Linked DNA regions of Homo sapiens: all the other regions are linked to region 1. The links are contacts of gene promoters, found by promoter capture Hi-C in blood cells and fetal thymus (Javierre and others, 2016). All regions are on one chromosome and are shown on one strand. Each heading gives the region's core, a stretch centred on a gene start or on the middle of the fragment in contact. The rest is flanking DNA. Distances are from core to core; before and after follow the strand shown. Region 1 holds the start of TXNL4B (thioredoxin like 4B). Region 2 overlaps MLKL (mixed lineage kinase domain like pseudokinase). Region 3 overlaps RFWD3 (ring finger and WD repeat domain 3). Region 4 overlaps GLG1 (golgi glycoprotein 1). Region 5 holds the start of NPIPB15 (nuclear pore complex interacting protein family member B15).

What was found. The method cuts DNA at HindIII sites, captures the fragments that hold promoters and counts their contacts. A CHiCAGO score of 5 or more calls a contact.
Region 2: a contact is called between a fragment that was not itself captured here and the fragment with the promoter of TXNL4B in region 1, in 1 of 17 cell types (naive CD8 T cells). The highest score is 5.6, in naive CD8 T cells.
Region 3: a contact is called between a fragment that was not itself captured here and the fragment with the promoter of TXNL4B in region 1, in 1 of 17 cell types (total B cells). The highest score is 5.5, in total B cells.
Region 4: a fragment that was not itself captured here is called in contact with the fragment with the promoter of TXNL4B in region 1 in 1 of 17 cell types (fetal thymus); the score reaches 6.8 in fetal thymus.
Region 5: the fragment with the promoter of NPIPB15 here is called in contact with the fragment with the promoter of TXNL4B in region 1 in 6 of 17 cell types (naive CD8 T cells, activated CD4 T cells, total CD8 T cells and 3 more); the score reaches 13.0 in naive CD8 T cells.

The regions. Positions count from the first base shown.
Region 1 is chr16:72,092,351-72,094,899 of GRCh38, reverse strand. It overlaps TXNL4B (thioredoxin like 4B), which reads left to right and starts at 1,280. Exons shown (of 4, transcript NM_017853.3): 1 at 1,280-1,533. It overlaps DHX38 (DEAH-box helicase 38), which reads right to left and starts at 1,053. Exons shown (of 27, transcript NM_014003.4): 1 at 849-1,053. RefSeq lists enhancers at 758-1,057, 1,118-1,167, 1,178-1,507. The HindIII fragment of the contact is 4,501 bases long and covers 1-1,746 here.
Region 2 is chr16:74,682,029-74,684,577 of GRCh38, reverse strand. It overlaps MLKL (mixed lineage kinase domain like pseudokinase), which reads left to right. Exons shown (of 11, transcript NM_152649.4): 6 at 1,792-1,927. Among named protein-coding and RNA genes, the nearest start is that of RFWD3, 16 kb to the right of the region's middle. RefSeq lists a silencer at 2,313-2,511. The HindIII fragment of the contact is 935 bases long and covers 813-1,747 here.
Region 3 is chr16:74,663,310-74,665,858 of GRCh38, reverse strand. The region is part of intron 1 of RFWD3 (ring finger and WD repeat domain 3); the gene reads left to right. Among named protein-coding and RNA genes, the nearest start is that of RFWD3, 2.3 kb to the left of the region's middle. The HindIII fragment of the contact is 657 bases long and covers 945-1,601 here.
Region 4 is chr16:74,602,876-74,605,424 of GRCh38, reverse strand. The region is part of intron 1 of GLG1 (golgi glycoprotein 1); the gene reads left to right. Among named protein-coding and RNA genes, the nearest start is that of GLG1, 3.0 kb to the left of the region's middle. The HindIII fragment of the contact is 3,850 bases long and covers 1-2,549 here.
Region 5 is chr16:74,375,026-74,377,574 of GRCh38, reverse strand. It overlaps NPIPB15 (nuclear pore complex interacting protein family member B15), which reads right to left and starts at 1,269. Exons shown (of 8, transcript NM_001306094.2): 1 at 229-1,269. The HindIII fragment of the contact is 9,807 bases long and covers 1-2,549 here.

The sequences.
Region 1 (2,549 bases), core at 31-2,530:
TCTACTCAATAGTTGTCTAAACTAGGAAAGGTACCCTGGACTGCCATTCTACGCAGTTGAGAGAACACTGGATGTGTTGTTGACTGCTGTAGCTCAATGTCTAGCAAAATAAGCGTTTGATAAATTAAAAAATGAATTAATTTAAACTTATTAAAGGAGGACAGGAACCCAAACATTTCTGGAGACAGCAAGGGAAGATTCCAGCAACACAGGACAAGGAGACAGCCAGAGAGAACTTCATTAGCTGCTGAGACGAACAAATAAGGAGCTAAAGAGCAAGATTCTTGAGAAGGATTAATGGCAAAGAAACTACAAGGCGTACGAGAAAGCCAGGGAAGAAAGAACCTGGATTCATTCATTCAACAATTATTCACTGAGGGTGTCCCTGAGCCAATTGCTGTTCTCGGCGATAGCAACAGAGAACAAGACAAAAATCCCCGCCCACCTGGAGCTGACATTCTAGTAGAAGAGATCGCCCACCAGATTGCCTGGTATAAATGACACTGTGAGAGAGCAGAGGAAGACACAAGGAGTCCTACTCGGGCTCGGTGACAGTCTGGGGTGGGTTAAAGCGGAGGCCTGGGAGAGGGACCAAGGCCACTCCAGGCAGCATCCCTGGATCTCAGCGAGGCCGCTCCAGGCAGCAGGATTTGACCAGAGCAAGGAGGAAGGCCAAGGCGGCCAGGACGGATGCAGCATCCCTGAGGTGAGTAAGGCAAGGTGGGTGACAGGGACGACAGAGGAACTCCCCAAACTGGGGCCCGGACCTGAGCAGGGGACCAATATCCGCCGCCTAGAGCCGCCATGATTACAGAAGGGCAGGCCAGGAAGGAAGAAGGGACTCTCACCTCACCAAGCGCGACTCTTGGGACCCTTCTGTCCCGGATTCTGGGGCGCCGGCGCTGCCACCCCTCGCTCAGACAGGCTCAAGGAGCCAAAATCCACACCTTGAAAGCGGCCATTATTGTCCCTTAATACTTTGCGCGCCCCCTCTATCCGCCCAAAGCTACCATAGAGAGCAGCCTGGAACACGCCCGATTCCTGGATCCAAGTGTGGAACGGTACGCCAACAGGCTCTCAAGGCCTCCTCTGGGGCTCTGATCAGACACTTCCGAGTCTCCTTGTGACCAATCACTCTTAGCCTAAGAGACTACATCCCGCCTCTAGTCTGGGGGCAGGAAAAGGAGGGGAAAAAGGTCGACCATCTTTAATACGGGCGGAGGTGACGCCTAGCTTCCGGTCAGAGCCGAGCAAGGTGGGCGGTGACTAGAAGCTCTTCCGTTTATTGGGCTGTTGAGCGGGGGCCGACCGACGGCCAGGAGTTTCTTTTCTGCGCTTGTGCGTTTTCTGTTCGGTTTCCTTCCCGCTAGCGGGGCCACGAGGGTTGCTAGGCAACAGCCCCTGGGTGACTTGGTCTTAGGGTCCTGTCCGGCTTGGGGCTGATGAAAGGAGCTGTCCGCGCCCGGGCTCTTCCGAGAAGTGGTTGCTGACAGCCACAAAGTGAAAGGGAGTGAGGCGGCGTGGACGAGTAAGGTAAGTGCTGGGGTCCCTTAGCGCTTGTGGGCCAGGAGCAGCGCAACACAGGTGACTTTAAATATGTATATCGGATATTTTGGAAAATGGAGATGCGCGCCCGGCTGTAAATAAAAATCACCCATGCGTTCACACGCAGAGATGACCACTGATTTCCAGTTGTTTTTCTGGAATACATTGTAGTAAGATTCTGTACAAAAGTGAGTTCAAGCTTTTTTTCTTTTTTTGGTGTTTCTGCAGTTGTGGCGCGCGCCTGAGGTTCCAGCTACTCGGGAGGCTGAGGCGGGAGGATTGCTTGAGCCTGGGGAGTTGAGACCAGCCTGGGCAACATAGCGAAACCCCGCCTCAGAAAAAGAGAGGGAGAGAGGAAAGCAGTGGAGTTATTGGTCAAAGAGTATGTCAGTTTTCTTTCCAGAAAGGTTTTGTGTCTGCATTCCAGCAGGAACTCCCTGTGCCTGCCCCTACCACTATCTTGTTTAATTTTTGCCAATTCAGTGACTTTGTAAACATATGTTTTAATTTGCTTTTCTTTGCTTACTGGTAAAGCTTAACTTTTTAGTTTATTTACTGTCCATTTGTACGTCTTCTTTTGGGAATTCTCTGTGGGTATCATTTACTATGGACATTTTCTTAGATGTGGTCTCAGTTTTCCTCTCCTGCTTCCAACGTTTGTCCAGTTGCACCCCTAGCCTCACCACTAACAACTTTGTTCTCCCCTTACTTTCTCCTTTCGATCAGTAACACGGAGGAACTGCTGTTTGTTTGAATTCTAGTGGGACAGATCCGTCTTCTCTTTGACCTTCCCTTTCATTGGTAATTTGTTCTGCTGCTCACATCTGATGACGTCCCTTTGGGCCATCAATGTCCCTGTTTAAAGTATGACCTATAGCTGGAACAATCTTATTTCCTATGTGAATTTTAGTTAAATAATTCCTTTTTTTTTTTTTGGAGACGGAGCTTCGCTCTTGTTGCCTTGCCCAGGCTGGAGTGCAGTGGAGCGATCCTAGCTCACTGCA
Region 2 (2,549 bases), core at 31-2,530, 2.6 Mb before region 1:
GTTTGCAGTGAGCCGAGATCATGCCACTGCACTCCAGCCTGGGTGACAGAGTGAGACTCTGTCTCAAACAAACAAAAAAAAAAACCATTACTTTACCCCTCTACCAAGAGCCTTATGTGACAGGCTCTTTTTTTTTTTTTTTTTTTCTTTTTTTCCCAATGTGACTGCATTTTCTCTCATGGAATGACCCCTCCTGCTGGTCATGTTTTGCTGCCGTCTTGCCTAGAGATTGGACAGAGCAACTCCTGTCTTATCCCCTTTGGAAGTTGCTCCACAGCCTCAGGCCAACTTGATTTCAGAGTGTGGAATCCCAATCTAAAGGGAAACGTAGGCCAGGCACGGTGGCTCACATCTGTAATCCCAGCACTTTGGGAGGCCAAGGTAGGTGGATCACCTGAGGTCAGGAGTTTGAGACCAGCCTGGCCAACATGATAAAACCCTGTCTCTACTAAAAATATAAAAATTAACTGGGCGTGGTGGTGGGTGCCTGTAGTCCCAGCTACTCGGGAGGCTGAGGCAGGAGAATTGCGTGAACCTGGGAGGCGGAGGTTGCAGTGAGCCAATATCATGCCACTGCACTCCAGCCTGGGTGACAGAGCTAGACTCTGTCTCAAAAAAATTAAAAAATAAAAAATAAAGACAAATGTTCAGCAACGTTTGTTCTCCTTGGGGACCGCTGAGGTGCCTGGCTCAGTCACATGTCAGTTTTGCAGCTCAGGCCCATGAATGGGGAAGTCGACTTCTTGTCTGAGTCCTCACCCGCCCCTGCCATGTGTGCCCTACTCATTCCTCCCACACAGATGTACGAAGCTTCTTGTGAGCACCCATGTGAACAAGACAGACACATTTCCTGCCTTCTTGGGAATCCAGTTGAGTGAGGAAGACATTCGCCAAATAACTGCTCAAGAAAATTTTGAATTATACCAAGAAAGGGAGATAGAAGTTAAAAAAGAAAAAGAAAAAGAATTTTTTTTTTTTTTTTTTGAGACAGAGTCTCATTCTGTCACTCAGGCTGGAGTGCGGTGGTACAATATGCTTACTGCAGCTTCCACCTCCGAGGTTCAAGCAATTCTCCTGCCTCAGCCTCCCTAATAGCTGGGACTACAGGCATGTCCCACCACACCTGGCTAATTTTTGCATTTTTCATAGAGACGAGGTTTCATCATGTTGGCCAGGCTGGTCTCGAACTCCTGGCCTCAAGTGATCCACCAGCCTCAGCCTCCCAAAGAGCCAGGATTACAGGCGTGAGTCACCACACCTGGCAGAACATTTTTTTTTTTTTTTTGAGATGTAGTGTCACTCTGTTGCCCAGGCTGGAGTGCAGTGGTGCAATCTCTGCCACGCAGCTTCAAGTGATTCTCCTGCCTCAGCCTCCCAAGTAGATGGGATTACACGCACCTGCCACCACACCCAGCTAATTTTTGTATTTTTAGTAGAGACATGGTTTCACCACGTAGGCCAGGCTGATCTCAAACTCCTGACCTTGTGTTCCACCCACATTGGTCTCCCAAAGTGCTGGGATTACAGGCATGAGCCAACGCACCCAGCCAATTTTTTTTTTAAGGTAGAATTACGACAAGCCAAGTATTATGGAGAAGAGGATGGGAATTCTGGGCATATTTGGTCCATTCAAGGAGGCCGGGGACCAAAACTGTGGGCTGAGGATTGGGGGAGAAATGGGACTCAGCAGAGCCAAGTCTGTATCTGTACCGAGGCTGGGAGAGGTGGGCTGCAGACATGGGAAGCTTCAAGTAGGGCGGGTCCTCATAGTGTCTGGCTCCTTTCCACCAGTGACTCCGCCTCAATTCTCCATTGTCATGGAGTACTGTGAACTCGGGACCCTGAGGGAGCTGTTGGATAGGGAAAAAGACCTCACACTTGGCAAGCGCATGGTCCTAGTCCTGGGGGCAGCCCGAGGCCTATACCGGTAAGACGGGGTGAAAAGGCGCCACTAAGGGTTGGATGGGTCTGTCCACACTCCTGATACTCCCAGAGATGGTGAGAGAACAGGCCAGACGCCCCAGACAGTCTCCCTCCCATACACTGTTTTACTATTTACTCTGATTACAGATAGGAGGGAGGAAAGAGGCTTAACCCAGGGAACACCAGCTCCCAGAACTGACGGTTGAAATTGATGTCCACACTGCACTTATAGAGTTGGATGAGCCCTAATTTTGGAGTGGACAGATTTAGCATAAAAATGAACATATCCAGTTAAATTTGAACGTTAGGAAAGTAATGAATCATTTTTTAGTATAAGTGCATCCTAAACATTGCATGGTATATACTTATACTAAATATCAAAAATATCAAATTTTATTTTATGTTTTGAGACAGAGTCTCACTCTCTTGCCCAGACTGGAGTGCACTGATATGATCACAGATCACTTAACCTCCCGAGCTGAAGGGATTCTCCTACCTTAGCCTCCTGAGAAGCTGGGACTACAGGCGCACACCACTACACTCAGCCAGTTTTTTTTTTATATATATTTTTTGTAGAGATAAGGTTTTGCCATGCTGCCTAGGCTGGTCTCGAACTACTGGGCTCA
Region 3 (2,549 bases), core at 24-2,523, 2.6 Mb before region 1:
AGGAGAATCGCTTGAACCCGGGAGGCCGAGGTTGCAGTGAGCTGAGATCACGCCATTGCACTCCAGCCTGGGCAACAAGAGTGAAACTCCATCTCAAAAAAAGAAAGAAAGAAAGAAAGAAAAGTCTCCCTGTTGCACCCAGGCTGGAAGAGCTCACTGCAGTCTCGAACTCCCGGGCCCCAGGGATCCTCCCACCTCGGCTTCCCGCAATAGCTGGGACCACAGGTGCGCGCCACCACGCCCGGCTCATTGTTTTATTTTTCTTTTTTCTTTCTTTTTTTGAGATAGAGTCTCGCTTTGTTGCCCCTGCTGGAGTGCAGTGGTGCGATCTCGGCTCACTGCAACCTCTGCCTCCCGGGTTCAAGCGATTCTCCTGCCTCAGCCTCCCAAGTAGCTGGGATTACAGGCATGCGCCACCACACCCGGGTAGTTTTTGTATTTTTAGTGGAGACGGGGTTTCACCATATTGGCCATTCTGGGACTCCGACCTCAAGTGGTCTGCCCTCGGCTTCCCAAAGTGCTGGGATTACAGGTGTGAGCCACCGCGCCTGACCTGTTCTATTTTTCTTTTTTGGTAGAGATGGGAATTTCACTGTGTTGCCCAAGCTGGTCTGGAACACCAGAGCGTAAGTGATCCATCCGCCTGGGCATTTCAGTGTCCAGGGATCACAGGCGTGACCCTCTGCACCGGCCAGAGCAAAGATTTGAACACTTCCCCCGCCCACCTCTTCTCAACCTTTAATTGAGGGGCTTTCGTCCTGCCTGTTGTGGCCATTGATTGAAACCTGAGTAACAAAGATGACAAGTCTGAGGTTGACATTTTAAGCACCGCTCACAGCACACATAAAAAACAGCGTTTGTGTGACATCCTCAAGGTTTGGGGTGCCCAGCCCATGGTCTCTCGTTCTAGGCACCTCCGACTGGCCTACAGTGGTTAGGAAGCTTCAGCTCCAGAACTGCACCGTTCCATAGAACTTTGTGCGACGAGAAAAGTGTTCTGTATTTCTGCTGTCCAGTATGGGAGTCACCCGCCCTATGTGTGTTTCTAGCAGTTGAAATGTGACCTGCACGACAAAGGAACTTATTTTATTTCTTTCTTTTTTCTTTTTTTAGACGGAGTCTTACTCTCTCTCCCGGTCTGGAGTGCAGTGGCGTGATCTCGGCTCAATGTAACCTCCACTCTCCGGGTTCAAGGGGTTCTCCTGCCTCAGCCTCCCAAGTAGCTAGGACCACAGGTGCACACCATCACGGCTGGCTAATTTTTTTGTATTTTTTGTAGAGACGGGGTTTTGCCGTGTTGCCCAGGCTGGTCTCCAACTCCTGGTCTCCAGCTACCTGCCTCAGTCTCCCAAAGTGCTGGGATTATAGGCGTGGGCCACAGCTCCTGGCCGAATTTGATTTTTATTTAATTTAAATAACCATATGGGAGTAGACAGTGCGGCCCCCTAGATTCTGCTCTTTTTAGTCCATTTCTCCCCTTTGTCTTCCTGAAGGCTGAGTTGCTTAATGTCTCTTGAGTACATCTAGAAGTAGCTTGGGCCTTATGTTCTGACACACAATTCTTGGGAGACTGTCGTTGTACCCTAGAAACATTAAAAGCTTTTAGTTAGGCAGCTGCAGTAGCTCACTCCTGTAATCCCAGCACTTTGGGAGGCTGAGGCAGAAGGGTTGCTTGAGCCGAGGAGTTGAAGACCAGCCTAGGCAACGTGGGAAACCCCATCTATACAAAAAATGTTTAAAACTTGAAGTATCTCACATTGTTCAGTTTGCAGACTTTCTTTCCCACTTATTTTCAGTACTGTGCCACTCTCCATCCTGAGTGTAAGCCTGTGTGGTTCAAACCTCCAGTTTTCTCGTGCATAGGGGGAGAAGGGCTTTGTTCTGTGTTTTGTTTTAGCTGGCTGGTGTTTGAGTAGGAGTCAAGCTAACTGCTTTACTGGCTTTTAACCAGCCCTTCTCTTTTAGCGCCATCTTTCAATATTGCCTTTTGTGGTACCTGGTTTTTACAGTCCCTTTAGTGGGAATCAGCTTGCTTCTCAATAACACACCTCACCCCAACCACTGTGCCCTTTGCAGGCTTTGAGTTTTATCTTTTGGCTCTGCTAAGCAGTCATCAATCATCAGTTTCTCCTTTATGGCCTTAAAAAACTGGTTTGCATATCATACCCTGTTTGCATTTGTGTCGTCCTGGTTAATTTATCCTTTCTTAAAAAAATGTCTCAGGTTGTGGGGGTCATGTTCGTGGGTTTTAGGAATGACTGGAGTGGAGAGAGAAAGATACATATATGTACTTCGTCCACTATGTTTATTAGAATTCCTTCCATTTATTCAGCCTGCACCAGTCTGGCCTCTGACCCCACCACTTCAGGGAAACTGCTTTTTTAGGTCACCTGTCATCCTCATGTTGCCAAATCTAGCGGCCGTTCTTCCCCCCAGTAGCACTTGACACTCAATTGTTCCTTCCTTGAAACATTGTTTTTCCAAGACACCACATTCCCATGTTTCCTCCTACTTTATAATCTTCCTTAACTGGCTTCTTTTACTCTGTT
Region 4 (2,549 bases), core at 21-2,520, 2.5 Mb before region 1:
TAGATGTCGTTTCATCAAACTAGGATCCTAATACTGGTGACCAAACAATTAGTAGTAGTTTGTGGTAGAAACAGCACATTATTAGGGAAAGTGGCAAAAAGTGGCCTATTCAAGGAGTGTATATATCCTTCATGTGTATTCCGGACATTTGGAAACCTCCACTTAAAGGAGGCAGTTTTATGCTCCAGAGGAGGAAAGGCGTCATATAAATTGGAAATGGGGGTTTTGGGGGGTTGGGGGGAGGTGGAGGGACCAAATTTCCAATTTAATGTTTTTTCCTCCAGTTTTTACATACAGAAATAATGAAGGAAGAGTACTGTGAACACCTATGTGTATTCTTCAGGAGGTGGAGTTATTTTTAAACTTCTTTTCTTTTTTTTGAGATGGAGTCTCACTCTGTCGCCAGGCTGGAGTGCAGTGGCTTGAACTTGGCTCACTGCAACCTCCACCTCCCGGCTTTAAGCAATTCTGCCTCAGCCACCTGAGTACCTGGGACTACAGGCGAGCGCCACCACGCCCAGCTAATTTTTGTATTTTTAGTAGAGACAGGGTTTCACCATGTTGGCCAGGATGGTCTCGATCTCCTGACCTTGTGATCTGCCAGCCTCGGGCTCCCAAAGTGCTGAGATTAGTGGTGTGAGCCACCACCCCCACCCTATTTTCTTTTTCTTTAAAGACAGCGAAAGGAAATTTCATTCTGCTTAGTCTGGGAGTTAATTAAATCTGATCTATGTGTTTGAAAGAGCATAACTTAAAGAAGTAAACTAGTTAGGCACATTTGAAGAAACATGTATAGAATATGTTTTGTATTTGCTGTTCAGTAAGTAGAACTATTTGATAGTGAAATAGATATATGTACTTTTCTGTCCCTTTGCATGCAAATGCAGGGAACATTTTCCTATCCGTACCCATTATTGGAATTATGAAAAGGCAGAGCATATGAGTACAGTTGTTCCTTGGTATCACTGGAGGATGGTTCCAGGCCTCCTGCAGATATTGAAATCCAAGGACGCTCAAGTACCTTATACCGTATAAAATGGTGTCGTATTTCCATATCATCTGTGCACACCCTTCCGAATTCTTGTCTTCTCTAAAATACTTGTGATACCTAGTACAGTGCCTACATATCAGTTCATTCATGTGGATTCACTGTAGTACTTGGCATATGTCAAACTTAACTTTTGCTTTTTGGAACCTTATGGAACTTTTCTTTCTGAAAAAAAATTTTTTATTATGGAGACAGGGTCTCGCTCTGTCATCCAGGCTGGAGTGCAGTGGTGCAGTCATAGCTCACTGCAGCCTCAGTCTTCTGGGTTTGAGAGTTCACTGAAGCCTCCACATTCCGGGTTCAAGTGATCTTCCCAGCTGGGCTTTCCAAAGTGCTGGGATTAGAGTTGTGAGCCACTGTGCCTGGCCTTGGGATTCTTTTTTTTTTTTTTTAACGCTCTCGGATGAGTCATGCTTTTAAAAAGGCCAAGTATATCATGGGTCCACTATGAAATAATAGATGTAATAGCCAGTAATGGTGTGTTAGTAGTCCTAGTTGTGTGTGTATAATTATTAGTAGTTCAAGTTATTTAAATAAAAACAAAAAATTAGAAAGTGTAAGGCAGAAAAGAAAAAATATTCCCTGGGCTGTTCTAGTAGGTGGAGTAATAATACCAAAGAAAGAGAAGATACTGTTGCTTAGTATGTGATAAGGAAGGCATGCTTGATGTTGTCAGTCATTTTAAAATACTTTACTTATTCTTGGTTGAAATGGCCAGTAGCACTTTTTTTTTTTCCACTAGTGTCTTGTATTTCGAAGTTTCAGATGGAGACCTTGGTTCCTTAGAAGTTTGTGGTGTTCAGCCGGGCGCAGTGGCTCACACTTGAAATCCTAGCCCTTTGGGAGGCTGAGGCAGGAGGATTGCTTGAGCTAGGAGTTCAGTACCAGCCTGGCAACATAGTGAGACACCGTCTCTAATAAAAAGTTTGTGATGTTCATAGATTAGATTTTCTTTTTTTTTTTTTTTTGAGACGGAGTCTTATTCTGTTGCCAGGCTGGAGTGCAGTGGTGTGATCTCGGCTCACTGCAACCTCTGACTCCCTGGTTCAAGCAGTTCTTCTGCCTCAGCGTCCCAAGTAGCTGGGATTACAGGCACGCACCACCTCGCCCAGCTAATTTTTGTATTTTTAGTAGAGACAGAGTTTCACCATGTTGGCCAGGATAGTCTTGATCTCCTGACCTCATGATCTGCCCACCTTGGTCTCCCAAAGTGCTGGGATTACAGTCATGAGCTATTGCGCCTGGCTGCTGCTGCTGCTGCTGCTGTTGTTGTTGTTGTTGTTGTTTGAGACGAAGTCTTGCCCTGTTGCTCAGGCTGGAGTGCAGTGGCACAATCTTGGCTCACTGCAACCTCTGCCTTCTGGGTTCAAGTGATTCTCCTGTCTCAGCCTCTTCATCACCTTGGCCAGGCTGGTCTTGAACTCCTCACCTTAGGTGATCTGCCTGCGTCGGCCTCCCAAACTGCTGGATTACAGGCATGAGCCATTGTGCGTGCCCCATA
Region 5 (2,549 bases), core at 20-2,519, 2.3 Mb before region 1:
TTAGAGGGAGACAAAAAGGTTCTGCTATCCACCAAACCTTCTTCGGTCTGGGCCCTCCCTTAGCAACCCTGGGGCTTTATACTCCCTCTCCACCAATCCCTGATGACCCCGGTGGTGCCTCACAATGGACAATGCCAAGTAGCGCCCGCATCATTCCAATGACCCCTCCCCCATCTCAGTCTCCCACACTCCTCGCAAGGACAGGTCCTCTCTGGAACCTTCACAAACCTGATTTCTGGTCCTCCCCAACCAGCTCCCTGTCCCTGCTTCTGGGCTCTCCTTCCTTCCTGAGCTCCCAGGGTTCCTCAAGGTCACTTTTGGCGACAAAACATAAAAAACAAATGATGGCAGGATGGCAGGAAGAACTTCATACCCAAGCAGAGTGCCAGGTTTTACAGCCTCCGCTCAGCCATTCATATCCTAAGCAACAAAACATCAGCAGGATGCGGAAGGTCCCGATAGTAAACCATCTCCATCACATCCATGTAGCCATCCGTCCATCAACCTGTATCTCAGGAACAAATGTAGATACATTCATTTTAAGCATGCATGGTACATTTACAAAAATTAACCTGACTTATTTTGTTCCAGCAAATCTCAATATATTTGAGAGCAATCAAATCACACAGCATGTTTCTGATCATATAACTGTGCTAGAAGTCAATGATTAAAAGCTAATTCAAAATTATTATTTGCTTGGAAATTCAAAGTGCCCTTATAAGACATAAACATAAGAAAGAATCCAAAATGAAACAAGATTGCCTTTCAACTCAATGATGAGATCATAACATGGCAATAAAATGTCTCCCCCTGGCCTGGGAATTCCTCTTTGTGGCACAAGGTTGTGTGATCTCAAATCACCCCTAACCCACCTAGACATTTTAACATCTGAAACCGAGTGATGATGTCCTTATCTATAATCATCTTACTGCCTGTGTGTGTGGACTTTAAATTCTGAACCCAAATGAGGGGGAGAAAACCAAGTTGACCTTCATCATTGACCTCTCAGGGACGTCCAAGGAATCTGTGCATTTCAAGAAACAAAGTTCATCAGCTTCTCTCCTAAGGTATTTGCCCACAATACCCAGAGGGCTTGGCAGCATCATGTGTGATGGGTGGGGAGCTCCAAGCAGGTGGGCAGGACCCAGGGGTCTGGTGACCAGGACAGACCCCCACTGTCCATCACCTTTCCTGGCCCTGTCCTCAGCTGAACTTCCCACAGGCCTTCTGCCCGATCACACAGAGTGTGCCCAAACTCACTCAGGCCTCTGGCAGCTGAAAACCACTGCTTTAAATCCCTTTACCATTTACTATGACATAAGGTTATTGTAAACAGGAAATATTCTATTGATGCTACAAATGGAAAGCCAATGCCTTTACCATAAATAGAAAAACAACCCTAAGAAACAAGCAAAACAAAAACAAAACAGGGGCTGGGTGTGGTGGCTCACGCCTGTAATCCCAGCACTTTGGGAGGCCGAGGTGGGTGGATCACAAGGTCAGGAGTTCCAGACCAGCCTGGCCAATATGGTGAAACCCTGTCTCTAATAAAATACAAAAATTAGCCGGGTGTGGTGGTGGGCGCCTTAGTCCCACCTACTTGGGAGGCTGAGGCAGGAGAATAGTTTGAACCCGGGAGGCAGAGTCTGCAGTGAGCCGAGATTGCACCACTGCACTCCAGCCTAGGCGACAGAGCGAGACTCAGTCTCAAAAACAGCAACAACTACAAACAAACAAAAAACAGGGTTAACAAAACTATGGAATTCAATTCTATTTATATGCTGCAGCCATGTTCCAGCCCTAGATTTGGCTGGGCATGGTGGCTCACGCCTGTAATCCCAGCACTTTGGGAGGCTGAGGCAGGCGGATCACGAGGTTAGGAGTTCGAGATCAGCCTGACCAACATGGTGAAACCCCGTCTCTACTAAAAATACAAAAATTAGCCAGGCACGGTGGCACCCGCCTGTAATCCCAGCTACTCAGGAGGCTGAGGCAGGACAATCCCTTGAACCCAGGAGGTGGAGGTTGCAGTGAGCCGAGATCGTGCCATTGCACTCCAGCCTGGGTGACAGAATGGAATGAGACTCTGTCTCAAAAAAAAAGAAGCCCTCGGATTTCGGTTGTGTTGGTTGTAAAAGGAGAGACCAAGTAAGTGGGGGTTGAAGTCAGATTAGACCAAAAGTGAATGGCAGAGAGTACTATAATGTCCATGAAGGGTTGCTAGAGTCACCGTGATCATAGCCCAAGCAGAGACAGGGAAAGGAAGATGTGAGCAGAGTTTGGGGCCTCAAACATTGGAGGTTACTCGTGCAGCCCAGGAAAGGCTCCCCAAAGCCAGGATCAACCTCCCTTGCAGGCGGTCCCTCATGGAGGCATGGCCAGGCACCTTAGATTTGAGACCAGCTGTGTTGCTGCTGACCAGCTGTGTGACCCTGGGCTGGTTTCCTTGCGTACAATGGGAGTGCCAATGGCTGCATGCATGCAAAGACCATCTGAGGATAGGAGGAAGCAATCTGTTGAGCACCCGTGTACCTGAGTGTCATCACCTC